2 separate regions of the Homo sapiens genome follow, and region 1 is linked to region 2. Evidence: promoter capture Hi-C in 16 types of primary human blood cells and fetal thymus (Javierre and others, 2016). All regions are on one chromosome and are shown on one strand. The core of a region is centred on a gene start or on the middle of the fragment in contact, and the rest is flanking DNA. Distances in the headings are between cores, read along the strand shown.

Region 1 (4,077 bases), core at 1-2,500, 4.7 Mb before region 2:
CGCCTGGCCGAGCCTGAGTCTCTCCGAATACCTCTGAGGCTTTTCTAGGTACAACATTCAAGGCTTCTAACCCTCCTGTGGGCCCGAAATGTCCTGGGAGTGTGGATGATACTAACCCGAGACAAAGTGTACTAGGGCTGTGGGTGATGCACACCCTGGCCTCTCAAGGGGTGTGGGAGGCAGAGAGGACGCTTGGGGACAGAGGCGGTGTCTGGAAATAGGGTGTGACAGGCAAGGGGAGAGCTGCTAGGACACTCTACCAAAGCAGGAGGGAGGGTGTGTCTGGGGCTGGCTGGGCTCCTAAGCGGGCCCTAGAAGCACTTTCACAGAGGAGGGGAGAGGTGAGTCACCAGCTTCTCCCACACCCAGCGCCCTGGTAGGAGGCGCTGCTTGTTGAATGAATGTTGGGCTTAAATAGTTTCCCGAGAAAGGCTAGTTGCAGGGAGAAGAGGCCTTGAGGGAACAGCCCTCAGCCAGGCCTCCTCCAACCAAATCCTTGCTAGGGGGAGGAGGGGCCCCGACAGTAGAGAAATGCTCCCTCTCCCCCAACTCCTTCGCTCCCAGCCCAGCCTAAGCTTTTTGGAGCATCACAGACTCGGTTTACAGAGACTCCCTAGGGCGGAGAGCTCTCTGCCCGCCTGGACAGCCCTGTCTGTCCATTGCTGGACAGCTCCACTTGGGCTGGATCGCCTTCCTCCCTCCCAAGGGACTGGCGCCCTCTCTGAGGTCGCGTCCAGCTCTCATAATGCGCAAGTTTCAGGGCCCCAAGGTACAGGAGGGAACTGGGAATGCAAGGAGGGGCCGCGGAGAGGCGTACAAGCAGATCCCAGTACGGGAGCAACACCTCCGAGTCCGCCTCCGCACGAACGCCGAGGACGAGGCGAGCCAAGGAACACGGACAAAAGAAGCCTGGACAGGCCGCGAGATGAGCAGAGGGATGAGCTGGCGAAGGCACAGACACGGCGAGCAGAGGGAGATGCGGGCCTAGCCGCACGGAGGAGCTCCAGGCGGCGAAATGGACCTAGAGGACCCCGGGGAAAAGCCCCAGGGCGACGGGGAAGCCTGGGTGTGGCCCGGCTGGCCCGGGGATACTCACATTCGCGGCCATGGTGGGACCCGGCTCGCTGCCGCCGCCTCGCGCTGTTCAGCTAGGAAGTGGGCTGACGACTGGAGCGTGGTGTCCAGCGGCCTCTTGCCAGCCCCAGCTTCGAAAATCCGCGTGGACTCCAGGGCCAAGCGGGACTTACTGCAGTTACCTCCCCCTGTGCCCAGTGTTTCTGCGCATGCGCGCGGCGAGACGTCCTGGAAACTATACGGTCCGGGACATTGCAGTACCTCATTGATGCGCCTGCGCACTGCAAAGCTTTCGGGGAAATGTAGTTTCTACTGCCTGGAGAGCTGTCGAGGAGCGCGCGACCTGCTGGGAAATGTAGTTTCCGGCTGAGGTTGGCCTGGCCGCGGTTGCGAGGGCGCCGAGGCAGGCGCGCGGCGGGCAGGCCTGGGAGGGGGCGGGTCCGCGCGGGCTTCGGAGGAGCCCGCCCTGCCAGAGGAGAGGGAGGTCACGGCGTAAAGGTGCAGCTGCCGCCACCGCCGCTTCTGCAAGGTCTCAGGGACGGGCTGCAGCCATGTCCTATTGCCGGCAGGAAGGTAGGGAGGGCGGGCTGCCACGGAGACCGGCCTACGAGGGCCTGCGGGAGACACGCGGGCCCCGGCGCCCCGCGACCACGCCGGGCGCGGGCCACCTGAGGCGCGGCCCAGGTGCCCACCCTGGGACACTCGGAGGCGGGCCGGCTGGGGGGTCGCTACTCCTGTTTTGCGGATGAGAAAACCGAAGCTCTGGGGGGAACGGGGCTGGTCCAAGGTCACAGTGAAGCCCGAACCCTGACCTCAGAGGGGCCTGTGCGTAGGAAGTCGTAAACTAGGTCCGGTTGGGGCACGGGAAGTGCCGAGCACGTTGCGTGTGGCTCGAAACTGGGAATGTATGGTGGTTAATTATCACTACCGCTCCTGCCATACCCCACGTGTTTACATTTTGCACGCGCCTTTAAAAGGCGCGTCCCGAAAAGTTGCCACTCGGGGTAGCGTGTGCTGTGCTGGAGTGCTAGGAGTTCCACTAACGGGAATGTTTTTGAGCCCCCTGCTACCTGTCAGGCACTGTTCAAGGAAACTTGCCTGGCTTGTCTCACAGATCTCGCTGCGACCTTTGTAAGTCAGGCTCTGTTGTTGGTCACATTTTACTGAAGAGTAAAGTTAGACACAGGAGACATGGCTAAAGCCACTCAGCCAGCAAATCGTGGAGCTGGGGTTTGAGCCTGGGCATTGTGACCCCAGAAGAGCCTTATCCAATCTAGTGCCCAGTGGATTGCAGGGAGAACCCTGCCTACCTCCCACCCCAAAGTTGAGCTCCGACCACCTACTGCTTCCTTGATGTTACTCTACCCAAGAGCTCAGAAGTACCCGAGCCACAGGTCGGAGGGCCTCCCCACACACTGCCACAAACTGGCTCCTTGGCCCTGAGCTCCCACCTAACCCCTCCAGGCCCTGGTATCCAGTGTTGTAAAATGAGATGTTGGGCTTCATTGATACGGCAAATACTCATGAAGCACCTTCTCTGCGCCAGAGAAGGGGGATGGATGGTTATAAAACTACAGAGAGAGTTGGAAGTCCCCCAGAAATTCTTTGGTGAATACTCCAGCTCCGTCAGTTAATTCAAGCAATCTGAAGCCCAGAGAAGGAGGTGGCCTACCTGTAGTTACACATCCAGTTAGGAGACTAGCTCAGCCTAAAATTCTGAGCCTTTTCCCTGGTGGCGCTGTCTGCTTCTAGAACCTCTCCTCCTCTGGGTCGTAAAGCCATAAGACTCACTCTTTAATGAGTACTATTATATTTCCGCTGATTACTACTTAATGTGTGCCATAAGCAAAAGTCCTCTGCCCTCACCACTCTTGTTTTTAATTTCGAGTCTTTCTCTAATTTACTTCATTTAGCAAATAATTTTTGAGCCTTTGGGTATAATGAGGCTGTGCTGATAAACAAGACCCTCCTCTTTGAGGATTTACAGGAGGCAGTTTTCTCTGGAAAGGGGAGGCTAGGTCCATCTGCCTCCAAAACATGGAGCCCTATCTTTTCCTGCTTCAAAGATCTCTCTTAGTTCGGAGAGGAGTGAGAATTGAAAGCACTCACTTATAGGCCTTCCTTAGTATTTATCTTGTGCATACCACTGTCCCCGTAAGAAGTCCCTAACTTCCCCCCCTCCGCCCCCCACTGATCCTTTATGCTTCCCATAGGATTTTTAAAAAATGATCCCAAACTGCTTACTGTATCAGAGCTTATGTGATCTGGCCCTGTCTGCCTTTCCAGCCTGGTCTCTTCCCACCCTTTTGCTGCCCAGCCTCTAGCCTCTTGGCTATTCCCTTGGTTTGGTATATCCTGCCTTCAGCTCTTCCGTGGCTGACTCCTCATCCTTTAACATTTAGCTCCAATATCACCTCCTGACCCTTTGTGTCTTTCACATCCTGAACTGTCTGAAATGACCTTTTTTATTTTTTGCCATCTTACTTCCTGCCTGTCTTCTCGCACTAAGCTGAGAGCATCAGATGGGCTGTGGAATCCCCAGCATCTAGCACAGGGCTTGGTGTACAATGGGTGCCCACATCTTTATTGAATCATGCATTTACCTGCCCTCTGTTCTGAGTGAATCACTTGCCTGTACAAGTTTATTTCAGGGGTCCACCTGCTACCCAGCCTTCAGGTTAAACTCGTTGGTTTGGCATTCAAGGGCTCTCAGCCTCGCACCTGGGCCTTGGGCTAGCCACACTTCTCCTGTGTCAGCACCATAGTGTTTCTTTCTTAGTTTCCTCTTTCTAATGCAGAGCCTGCCAACTCCTGTTCAGTCAACAATTATAGAGCACACGTGATGTGCCAGCCATTGGGCATATAGTGGTGAGCAAGGTGACACATTCTCTGCCCTCCTGGCATGGTGGAACAGATTGCCATTAAAACATCACCAGACAAATGCATGATTACAGACTGTCATAGGTGACATGAAGGAAAAGCCCAGCATGCTATGATCGTTTA
Region 2 (5,418 bases), core at 2,610-5,109:
AAAAAGTTTTCAAGGGTATAACTTAAGTAAATCCTTCTATGAAAAGGGCCTGTATGATCCTCTAAAAAATGATAATATCAAGAGCACAAAAGGTTCCAAACAACAGGAAATTCGAGTGTAAAAGCAATTATTTTATATAGCAACTTAAGCCACAGAGTAAAAAACTACAAACATTTTTATCTTAAACCCTAAGTATGTCAAACAGCCAGTATACATGAAATCATATTTATCTGCTATTGCATCTTATCTATGTGATAGTAATAAGAATTGGAACCTCCTAAAATAGTATCCATTAAAGGTTCTGTTTCATTGGTCTGCTTTTATTACTGGGAAAACAATGTGAGCCACATTTGTGAATGACAAAACTCATTTCCATTCTTTTTGGTTCTCTGCCACAAATGCCAGAGTGATACTACAAATTATAGATGTTTGTGAGATTTAAGTACATTTACACGAAAATGAACAAATCAAAATTCTGAGAGAAAAAAGTATAGGATACACGAGTCTTGGGGAAGAAAAACAGCACACAGGAATATGTCCAGTATTGCATATAATTGGTGGTGGTGGTTCTCCTTCAAGTTTTTCCACGCTCAGACTGTTTTGCTTAATCAGAGATCATCCTAATGTTCAGGAGTTGTGGGGGAGGGGAGATCACCTAAGGGGCTCAGAGGCCATCTTCTCAGTATCCTGAACTAGACTTATTCGATTTCTGCATATTTCTTCTGGTCTGTCCTACATTTCAGATGGATTATGGCCAAAGACATATATTTGTGATGTCAGAAGGCTATATCCAACATGTATATAATGAATCAATCTTATAAGTCAAACTCCAAAGAAAATATCTAATCTGGAGAAGTTTATTACTAATATACAAATTAAAAATATTTATTTAGAAACCACTCCAAAATGGCACCTTTTTAGAGTTTAAGAGTTCAAGCTTAGTAAAATGTTTAGCAAATCGTCTATAAGGTAAATGTGGTCTAATCGAAAGGATGGAGACACATAACAAAATAATAAGAATTGATTCTATGATTAAAGAGATGGAGGAAGGCATGATATGTGAGCTGCAGGAAAAAATTCCTGTTATTTTCTTCCTATTGTGGTTATCAGAAAGATTCTTAAAATTATTACTTGGGTTTTTAAACTGATTGAAAAATTAAAACTCTAATGGAACTTTTAGTCCTATCCAAGCACAAATGTCTAGATAAAAAACAAAAATCTGCCAAAAAACAAAAATCAAATCAAACAAACAAAAAAAGAAAGGCTTTAACCATGATCCAGTTTCCAGATGCCAATATCCATAAATGGGTAGGAGATTATGAATTACTAATTCCCATCTCCCCACCAATAAAAAGCAAACCAGCTCAGCAGTGAAAATTCCCAGAAAAGCAAGGTTTCTTCTTAGTCCTGAAGCAGCCATCGCCTAAGTGCTGCTCCCTGCAGCCAGCAGCATTAATGGACGCTGCACTGCTGTCCTTCCCTGGAGACAGCAGCCAGCACTACTCAAGCTTCTCACGTAGCAACCAGAGCTCCAGAGCCAGCAGCTGCTGCTGCCTTGTATACTCACCCCTGTGATCCAACCCAAAGGAACAACCTTCTCTTTACCCCACCCCCACTCCTTACACACACTTTTTTTTTTTTTTTTTGGACCAGTGCTCCATGCCAGAAGGGCTGGAATTATGCTTTTAAGAAAGAAACAATCCTAAGGTCACCCTTTTAAACCAAGGCCTTTTATTAGAAAAATCAACATTTACCAAATTCTAAATATCCATTTTAATTAAGCCAGCAGTTTAGGAGTGAAGATTAAGCTTTGGTCTTTTGAAAGCCAATTTCCCAAGCACTCTACAATCTAATTTAAATTTGCAGCTAGAAACAGAGCCTTGTGTCATGTCCTACCAAAGGGCATAATTCATTTTTCTACACATAATGACAGTCTGAGTAAACCTTAAAGACTCTAATCCCATAACAGGCCAGAATTTTTGGCTACAGAAGAGAACTAATGATCCTGAGAAAACTGGAAGAAATCCAATAGAAAAAAAAAAGCCCTACGTCCTCTATGGAGCCCAGAAACCTCTGATTACGTGGGTATTCTCTGCTTTAGTCCTAGCTCAGATCCCACACATCTAAAATTACCACTTAGAACTTTCTGTGACCTAAAAACATTAATAATATAAAATTAACAACCAAAAAATAATTTCAAATAGGGAGTACACACTCTCCTAAAAAGCTCAGCACACTCCACTCAGCTGGATCCTCCCCAATCACAAGTATAGCTATGTAACATCTGTCCAACAAAGAAATGTAAATATGACCTTGGTCACAAATATGTCATCTAAAAACTTGTTTAGTCAACTGATGAAGGTAATTAGCACAGAACTTGGGGATTCGTTCAGTACCTATGTGCAGGAAGGAAACTGGAGAAATGAACTTAAATATAGACAAAGCCCAGTGGAACCCAGAGGTCTGGGAAAGAAATGAGTTACCGGTGAATACATTGCACAAGTAACATGAGAAAGCAGAAAATGCAGGTCATACACGCACCCCTGACCCAGACCAGCAGAGCTGACTGCAGCATCCATATCCAAGAGAAAGACCACTGACGCCCAAGAAGTGAGACAAGCAAGGACTCTATAGAATCAATTAGCATAGAAGGGGCTTTCCCAACAGTTTAACTTTCCCTCTCATGCGATTTACCTACTTGAACCAGGGCTCTTTCCTACACTCCTCTTCACATTCCCGACTTACACGCAGAGGGAAAGAGAATTCATAAAGGGAATATTTTTCTGCCTTTGAAGATATTCTCACAAGATCGTTCTCCACGCCCAAGGCAAGTAAAACGACACAATCTGGCTCAACTCCAGGCTCGAACCCTACACATTCAACGAGGCTATCTCAGACACGCTGTGGCACACGCCACGGGGAGCCAGAGAACGTGTGGTGGGGGTGGCGAAGGTAATGCCTTTGGGAAGCAGCCATCTGAGGTGGGAAGCCAGAAAACGAGAGGGAAGGCGTCCAGGAAGATTACGGAGGGGAGATCGCGGCCCCCAGAGCGATCAGAGTTGTCTGTCACAAGGCCGCGAGAACGGGGGTAGGGAGTGGGGGATCGGGGAGAGAAAAAAAGTATGCCTGTGTATTTCGAGCGGAGGGCAGCAAGAGGCCTCTCCTCAAGGGAAAGGTAAACGTGGAGTAGGCAGTTCCCAGGAAAGGGGGTGAAGAGGCGTTGGGGGAGGGGAAGCGTCCTGACCCAGGAAAAACATGAAAGGGGGAGTTGGGTCGCCTAGATTAGAGGGGGATCTCTCTCCCTGGGAAAATGGGGTGTTGCAACGGTGTGTGCAAGGCGGCGAGGGGGGTGAGAAGTGGCAGCATCCTCCTAAGAGCTTGGGGAGGGCCAGGCCCACGACCCAAGGAGAGCGAGCGCGGGGAGACGGAGGAGGTGACCCTTCCCTCCCCTGGGGCCCGATCGTGAGGTTCGGTCTCTTTTCTGTCGGACCCTTACCTTGTCCCAGGCGCTGCCGGGGCCTGGGCCCGGGCTGCGGCGCACGGCACTCCCGGGAGGCGGCAGGACTCGAGTTAGGCCCAACGCGGCGCCACGGCGTTTCCTGGCCGGGAATGGCCCGTACCCGTGAGGTGGGGGTGGGGGGCAGAAAGGCGGAGCGAGCCAAAGGCGGGGAGGGGGGGCAGGGCCAGGGAAAGAGGGGGGCCGGCACTACTGTGTTGGCGGACTGGCGGGACTGGGGCTGCGTGAGTCTCTGAGCGCAGGCGGGCGGCGGCCGCCCCTCCCCCGGCAGCGGCGGCGGCGGCGGCGGCGGCGGCGGCGGCGGCAGCTCACTCAGCCCGCTGCCCGAGCGGAAACGCCACTGACCGCACGGGGATTCCCAGCGCCGGCGCCAGGGGCACCCGGGACACGCCCCCTCCCGCCGCGCCATTGGCCTCTCCGCCCACCGCCCCGCACCCATTGGCCCACTCGCCGCCAATCAGCGGAAGCCGCCGGGGCCGCCTAGAGAAGAGGCTGTGCTTCGGCGCTCCGGCTCCTCAGAGAGCCTCGGCTAGGTAGGGGAGCGGAACTCTGGTGGGAGGGGAGGTGCGGTACACTGGGGGGATGGGTGGCTAGGGGGGCCGTCTGGTGGCTTGCGGGGGTTGCCTTTCCCGTGGGAAGTCGGGAACATAATGTTTGTTACGTTGGGAGGGAAAGGGGTGGCTGGATGCAGGCGGGAGGGAGGCCCGCCCTGCGGCAACCGGAGGGGGAGGGAGAAGGGAGCGGAAAATGCTCGAAACCGGACGGAGCCATTGCTCTCGCAGAGGGAGGAGCGCTTCCGGCTAGCCTCTTGTCGCCGATTGGCCGTTTCTCCTCCCGCCGTGTGTGAAAACACAAATGGCGTATTCTGGTTGGAGTAAAGCTCCTGTCAGTTACGCCGTCGGGAGTACGCAGCCGCTTAGCGACTCTCGCGTTGCCCCCTGGGTGGGGCGGGTAGGTAGGTGGGGTGTAGAGATGCTGGGTGTGCGGGCGCGGCCGGCCTCCTGCGGCGGGAGGGGAGGGTCAGTGAAATCGGCTCTGGCGCGGGCGTCCTCCCACCCTCCCCTTCCTTCGGGGGAGTCGGTTTACCCGCCGCCTGCTTGTCTTCGACACCTGATTGGCTGTCGAAGCTGTGGGACCGGGCCCTTGCTACTGGCTCGAGTCTCACATGAGCGAAACCACTGCGCGGGGCGCGGGGGTGGCGGGGAGGCGGGCGTTGGTACGGTCCTCCCCGAGGCCGAGCGCCGCAGTGTCTGGCCCCGCGCCCCTGCGCAACGTGGCAGGAAGCGCGCGCTGGAGGCGGGGGCGGGCTGCCGGCCGAGACTTCTGGATGGCGGCGGCCGCGGCTCCGCCCCGGGTTCCCACCGCCTGAAGGGCGAGACAAGCCCGACCTGCTACAGGCACTCGTGGGGGTGGGGGAGGAGCGGGGGTCGGTCCGGCTGGTTTGTGGGTGGGAGGCGCTTGTTCTCCAAAAACCGGCGCGAGCTGCAATCCTGAGGGAGCTGCGGTGGAGGAGGTGGAGAGAAGGCCGCACCCTTCTGGGCAGGGGGAGGGGAGTGCCGCAATACCTTTATGGGAGTTCTCTGCTGCCTCCCGTCTTGTAAGGACCGCCCTGGGCCTGGAAGAAGCCCTCCCTCCTTTCCTCCTCGCGTGATCTCGTCATCGCCTCCATGTCGAGTCGCTTCTCGATTATGGGCGGGATTCTTTTGCCTAGGCTTAAGGGGCTAACTTGGTCCCTGGGCGTTGCCCTGCAGGGGAGTGAGCAGCTGTAAGATTTGAGGGGCGACTCCGATTAGTTTATCTTCCCACGGACTAGAGTTGGTGTCGAGGTTATTGTAATAAGGGTGGGGTAGGGAAATGGAGCTTAGTCATTCACCTGGGGCTGATTTTATGCAACGAGACTG

Evidence for each region. Contacts are between HindIII fragments. The CHiCAGO score rates a contact against its expected background, and 5 or more counts as called.
Region 1: a contact is called between the fragment with the promoter of TMEM43 here and the fragment with the promoter of SETD5 in region 2, in 1 of 17 cell types (monocytes). The highest score is 5.8, in monocytes.

The regions. Positions count from the first base shown.
Region 1 is chr3:14,122,225-14,126,301 of GRCh38, reverse strand. TMEM43 (transmembrane protein 43) reads right to left here and starts at 1,250. Exons shown (of 12, transcript NM_024334.3): 1 at 1,097-1,250. The coding sequence starts at 1,108. CHCHD4 (coiled-coil-helix-coiled-coil-helix domain containing 4) reads left to right here and starts at 1,432. Exons shown (of 3, transcript NM_001098502.2): 1 at 1,432-1,647. The coding sequence starts at 1,626. RefSeq lists enhancers at 616-905, 338-1,072, 1,006-1,205, 1,073-1,807, 2,576-2,675 and 2 more and silencers at 1,396-1,955, 1,966-2,015. The HindIII fragment of the contact is 788 bases long and covers 578-1,365 here.
Region 2 is chr3:9,396,056-9,401,473 of GRCh38, reverse strand. It overlaps SETD5 (SET domain containing 5), which reads right to left and starts at 3,859. Exons shown (of 23, transcript NM_001080517.3): 1 at 3,497-3,859. THUMPD3-AS1 (THUMPD3 antisense RNA 1) reads left to right here and starts at 4,851. Exons shown (of 4, transcript NR_132781.1): 1 at 4,851-4,914. RefSeq lists an enhancer at 2,992-3,041 and a silencer at 3,652-4,961. The HindIII fragment of the contact is 6,018 bases long and covers 1,811-5,418 here.